Linked DNA regions of Homo sapiens: region 1 is linked to region 2. Evidence: promoter capture Hi-C in 16 types of primary human blood cells and fetal thymus (Javierre and others, 2016). All regions are on one chromosome and are shown on one strand. Each heading gives the region's core, a stretch centred on a gene start or on the middle of the fragment in contact. The rest is flanking DNA. Distances are from core to core; before and after follow the strand shown. Region 1 overlaps CCNI (cyclin I). Region 2 holds the start of CDKL2 (cyclin dependent kinase like 2).

Region 1 (2,933 bases), core at 1-2,500, 1.4 Mb after region 2:
TGAGAGCTAACTGTTAGCATTACAATCCTAGCCATATGATATTCTACAAAAATAATATCAATTCCATTGCTCAAAGTTCAACCAAAGCCAATTAACCAAAGTTCATTTCTATCCAGCAGAAAAAAAGCTTGATTTAGAAGTTTTTAATAAATAATATTCCCAAAATTAAAAAATTTTTTGTGTATGTAAACATTTTTTAAAGCTAATTGCTTGCAATCTGGGATATCTGAAAAATGCCTACTTTTATCTCAGCAACAAGTCCACATCACTCCTCCCTCCCTCTCTACTACATCTAACCTACTTTTCACAGATAATTCCACAGAAAGATGAGTTTAAAGTTAGTGTCCTTTCTTGGACAGTACATTTTTCAAAAATTATTAGTGAACACATTGTTGTAGTTTCTATCATGAGTTTCTTGCTGTGTTTATTAAACATTTGAAACAAAGTTGGAGAAATTTGTGGAACAATTAGAGAATTTTGCCAAATATCTCATTTTTTCATATTTCTTATTTATTGGGTCCTGTCATGTTTAGTAAGTGTCTTAAGAGTAGAAGTTTGAGCAGCTATTCAGTCTTACACTCCGTAATTATTTGGCTTCTATTCTGTATACCTAATAAAGCATTTAATTGACAGTTCCCCCAGTTTACATATTCTTTTGCATACTAATGCCTACAAGTTTAAATACTATGCTACTTTTTCATGCCTTGCCATTAAATAAATGCTCATTTTCTGCTTTAAATATGTTGAGGGCCTATTTACTAACTTGACACAGCCAATGACATGGCAATGGGGACAATATAAAACCTAATTATTTGTATGCTGTCATTCAACAAAAATATACCAAAGTTGCTTTATGACATCTTGTTATATACCAAAGTAAGCCCGTAGAAAGCACTTTGTTTTTCAGAAAGCCACACAGTATGGATATTCAATAAGTAGTGACAGAGAAAAACGTGCAATAGGCTTATACTTTATTCTAGTCTGATTCCTTGTCCACCTCTGTACACCAATATGTTAGAAAATGACTAAGTATTCTGCTGATGCTATACGGTTTGTGCTAAAATCAAGAGATAAAAAATTTCATAGGCTAAAAAGTTATGAATACTTGTAACAAAAAGAAAATTACAGAATACTATTAGAAACACTTCCAAAAACACTTCTGCTTTTTAAACAATAGTAGAAAGCCGGGAGTGGTGGCTCATGCCTGTAATCCCAGCACTTTGGGAGGCCAAGGCAGGCTGATGACTTGACGTCGGGAGTTCAAGACCAGCCTGGCCAACACGGCAAAACCCTGTCTCTACTAAAAATACAAAAATTAGACTGGCATGGTGGCACGTGTCTGCAGTCCCAACTACTTGGGAGGCTGAGGCACAAAAATTGCTTGAACCCAGGAGGCAGACACACTCCAGCCAGGGCAACAGAGCAAAACTATCAAAAAATAAAAATAAAATAAACAATAGCAGAAGACATCACCATGTCTTCTTATGGGTACATACATCATTCTCCAGCAAAGTTCTCCACTTCTTTCTACCTTACAGAATGTTCACTAATAGCCTCTAGTTTAGCATACATACACTCAAATGAGGTTATATGTAAGTCTATCTTAAAACACTTACCTTTACGGTAGCTAAAAACCTATCCAAAAGACTGCTAGCCAGAGCAAATGTTTCTGGGTAAAGGTTGAATTGGTACTTGAGTTTGGCCAGCCATTGAATTACTTCATCTCTCTGGGATGGAGAAACATTCTATAAGGGAACAATTTTGAAAACAGAAGACAAAGTTTGAGCTATCATCAAGAGTATGTTTAGAATTCTCTCTCATAAAAGGTTAGGTAATACTACAAAATATATTTAAAAATGTTAAGGTTATTCAAAATCTATCAGACTTGAGACACATGAAATAAAACTTTATGTATTATCACATTTAATATCAATATCCAATATTCTCCTACTCTTTATTAAAATTTTCACTATGTCATCTCACCAAATATCCATAGTTGAATTAAATTTAGGTGCTCAGAGAATATAACATTTTAAAGTTTAAGTAACACTATTATCAACTGATAGTAATTTGGAGTTAAGTTACCCCACCTCTTAAGATTAAGAAAATACAGTGAATTTCTCCCGCAGCAAGTAGCCATTAACTTATCTTAGGAAATATAAATGAACTATGATAATGGAAATGATAGCCCATTTGAAAAACTAAAATCAATAGTAATAAGTAAAAGATACCAGGGACAACAGATGAATTATACACTTAGAGATGATGAAAAAATATTGAACAGGAAATTAATCTGAAGTAAATTACTATTTTGAAAAATTTCCACAAACACAAAACATTATTGTTTTATTGTTGTTGTAAGCCTATTGAGTATAAGCTTAATTTTTAGCAGGGACACACTTTAAAGTAATAGTGATTAGAAAACTTTTACTCTTGAGTTTTGGAGTCGCCATTAAAAAAATAAAACCGGTTGTTTATTTTGGGAACATTCAGTATTCTCCTTACAGCTCTTTCAAACTGTAGTTTCAAACAGTTTGAAAGAGCTGTAAGGAGAATACTCAAATAATATGTAGGAAGATTAAAACAACAATGTTTTGTGTTTGTGGAAAGCTTTCAAAATAGTCATTTACTTCAGGTTGATTTCCTGTTCAATATTTTTTTTCATCATCTCTAAATGTATAATTCATCTGTTGCCCCTGGTAACTTTCACTTATTAATATTGATTTCAGTTTTTTAAATGGGCTATCATTCTGTTATCATAGTTCATTTGTATTTCCTAAGTTAACCATAGTAAGCCTACAATGGTATGGAACACTAGAAGTTATTCCTCATATCTAGCTGTAATTCTGTATCCAGGCTACTTTAAGATCTAGTTCTGGACTAAGGATCCATAAAAATCCCTGAGAACCAAGTAAAGCCAATCACAAGACTTC
Region 2 (2,882 bases), core at 348-2,847:
CGACTTAAATTATTATTTTACTACCAGTTTTCATAGTAGATTCTACTACAAACTTTTTACAGAGCAGTGTCCCAGACACTAACTTTCCATGCATTTGACATTTTACCTTCTATTCCACTTCCATTAACTATTTTTTAATAAACTGTTTGTATTTGAAAAAAAAAATCTCCATATAATTCTATCCCTTCTTAATTTTTTTCTCTTCCATTAAGAGAGTATGTTTTATTAAGCACTAGGCTTTAGGTTTATCATACCAATGACAAAAATAGCTTGAATCTATAACCTGGATTATTTTAAAACATTTTGTAATTGATGTCCTCAATATTTGAAAGCACAAAGTGAACCAAAAAAAATGACTTTAAGCATGTCTGAGGTGTTCTGAAGCATATCCCAAGCTAACATTAATGCAAGTTGACTGCTTCAAGTTTATTCTCCCAACCAATTGCATATCTGGACACACCACATTGAACACACCTGCTTTTTCAAGTGACACTGTCCACAAATACTTTAAAAGTATCACAGCCTACAAAGCCTCCTGTTTCCTGAAACAGTTACTCATAAACTATAACTTCTCATGCCTTCTACTCTTGAACGGAAAGGTAATACAAACGAAAAAGAAACCTGGCCAATGGGCAAGGTGTTATTTCTGGATGGTTCTAAAAGCAACAATTTTGATAAAAATATTTGGAGAATGCTAATTTTTTATTTTGTTTAAGACAGATTAAAGGGCCGGGAGCGGTGGCTCACGCCTGTAATCCCAACACTTTGGGAGGCCGAGGCGGGCGGATCACCTGAGGTTGCGAGTTCGAGACCAGCCTAACCAACATGGAGAAACCCTGTCTCTACTAAAAATACAAACTTAGCCGGGCGTGGTGGTGATGCCTGTAATCCCAGCTACTTGGGAGGCTGAGGCAGGATAATCGCTTGAACCCAGGAGGCAGAGGTTGCGGTGAGCCGAGACCATGCCATTGCACTCCAGCCTGGGCAACAAGAGTGAAACTCCGTCTCAAAAAAAAAAAAAAAAAAAAAAAAAAAAAAAAAAAAAAAAGATTGAAATCTTTTATAGATCAAAGAACGAGATAATAGAAGCTTTAAAACGTACTATACTTACCGTTTCTTCAATCCGTTCGCATAGAAAGACCCAAAGGTTTTCAACTTGGAAACAAATTTGAGGTGAAATGCATATGGTTCGCAGGTCCAAAAGATGCTGCCTAGCAAACTAGCAATTCCAGCGCTGTTGTGATTTCTTCTGCGGACGCAGTCACGAGTCCAGGGCGAAGCAGGCAGGGAGGCAGGTGGGCCTCGGTCCGCCGCAAGCTCACACTTAGGAGGACCACGGGCCGCATGCTGTCGTCGTCAAGGCAACGACCTCACTCTGTCCCCAACCATAGGCACAAAGTCTTGGGAGACAGATACGGCCCAGGTCAGAATGCGTTCACGGCAGGCACCAACACCTGTGAAGGCCAAGGGCTAGAGAGCAATTAGCTGGGTGAGAGGCACCACCTCCCAGCTCGTAAGGCGCCCAGTACCTGGAGCCTGGGAACCTGCACCGCTCCAACTACCCCTGGGCGAAGGCGTTGGCCGCGGAGCTGCAAGGGGGGGCGGTTTCTCACCCGCCCCGAGAGCGCCAGGCCTCCCTTCTTCTGATTGGCCGAGCCGAGTCGTCACGAGCCATGATTGGCTCAGGGCCAACCACCCCGCCCCTTCACCTAGGGCTCGGCCCAGGTTCTGCTCCCTGACACGCAGAGGCCCTGCGTCCCCACACGCCTTGGTTCTCGTCAGGAGGCGCCTTTCTGCCTTCCCCAGCGGGAGGAGGCGATTGTGATGCCCACGCGAAGGGTAAAGGTGGCGGTTATGTAGGACTGCGAAGACTATGCAAAATGCGATACGGTTTCCCTCATAGCATCGCCGCTGGGGCAGGGGCGGGCGCCGGGCGCCCTGAGTCGCGTAGGCGCGGCCTGACCGGGATTCCATGCTTCCTTTCTGTTCTGGGCGGTGGGGCCAGTGTGAGCCAGGTAGGAGATAACGGTGACAGTTTAGGAGGTGATGATTAGTAGGCGAGGCAAGGTGGAAGAAGGTAGGTGATGACAGACCTGACGTTAGGAGGGACCTTGGGAAGGCCAGTCTGGCCATTGAAAGTGAGGGAAAACACTGAGATGGAGGAAGGGGAAGAGAGGGCATGAGTGGAATGGGAAAGCGCTGGGATGGCTGGGGATCTGGAGGACACGCACAACACCCGCGTATGGCAGCCAAATGGGGTGGAGTTAGGGCTTGCGATAAAACTTGCCTTAAATGCAAAAATGCAGCTCAATCCACGACTGAGCAAGACTGGTAGGTCAGAATCATGCACAGGCTTAAATCACACAGGAACAGAGCTTACCCCATTTTCAAAGAATCTGAGGCAGCGAGGAGGCCATAAGGCCAGTAAAATAACACTTTCAATCATGATAACTAAATGTTCATGATCATTTTGGTCTCGAAACTACTTTGATTTAGGGAATAGAGTGTCCTGGATAGACAAATGTCTACCATATACCCTAGTCAATATTAAGGTATTAATCATTAATGTTAAGGTATTGATTCCTTCTTGTACATTAAGAAATAGACATTCTTTTTATAGTCTTTTGTGAGTTTGGTTAGTTTGCATTAATCTCCCAGTGGTTAATTACCTTGGTCAGACTGCTTAAAATCTAGTTCCTGAACCTGTAATATTGAGAACCAGACCTGAGGCCTAGTTATGGAAAGAATAGAATTATTTGGTCAATTCAAGATGTGACTCTTAGTGTAGCAATTAGCTCTGTCCTTAGCTGTGTCCAAGTTGCGAGAAGCCCTGTCCCATTTGGTACCTCTATAGGCTATAAGAGAATCTGATGAACTTCTTT

Evidence for each region. The method cuts DNA at HindIII sites, captures the fragments that hold promoters and counts their contacts. A CHiCAGO score of 5 or more calls a contact.
Region 1: a fragment that was not itself captured here is called in contact with the fragment with the promoter of CDKL2 in region 2 in 1 of 17 cell types (total CD8 T cells); the score reaches 5.7 in total CD8 T cells.

What each region holds. Positions count from the first base shown.
Region 1 is chr4:77,056,891-77,059,823 of GRCh38, forward strand. It overlaps CCNI (cyclin I), which reads right to left. Exons shown (of 7, transcript NM_006835.3): 3 at 1,617-1,745. Among named protein-coding and RNA genes, the nearest start is that of CCNI, 18 kb to the right of the region's middle. The HindIII fragment of the contact is 2,250 bases long and covers 126-2,375 here.
Region 2 is chr4:75,628,931-75,631,812 of GRCh38, forward strand. It overlaps CDKL2 (cyclin dependent kinase like 2), which reads right to left and starts at 1,598. Exons shown (of 14, transcript NM_001330724.2): 1 at 1,112-1,598. The HindIII fragment of the contact is 1,829 bases long and covers 1,088-2,882 here.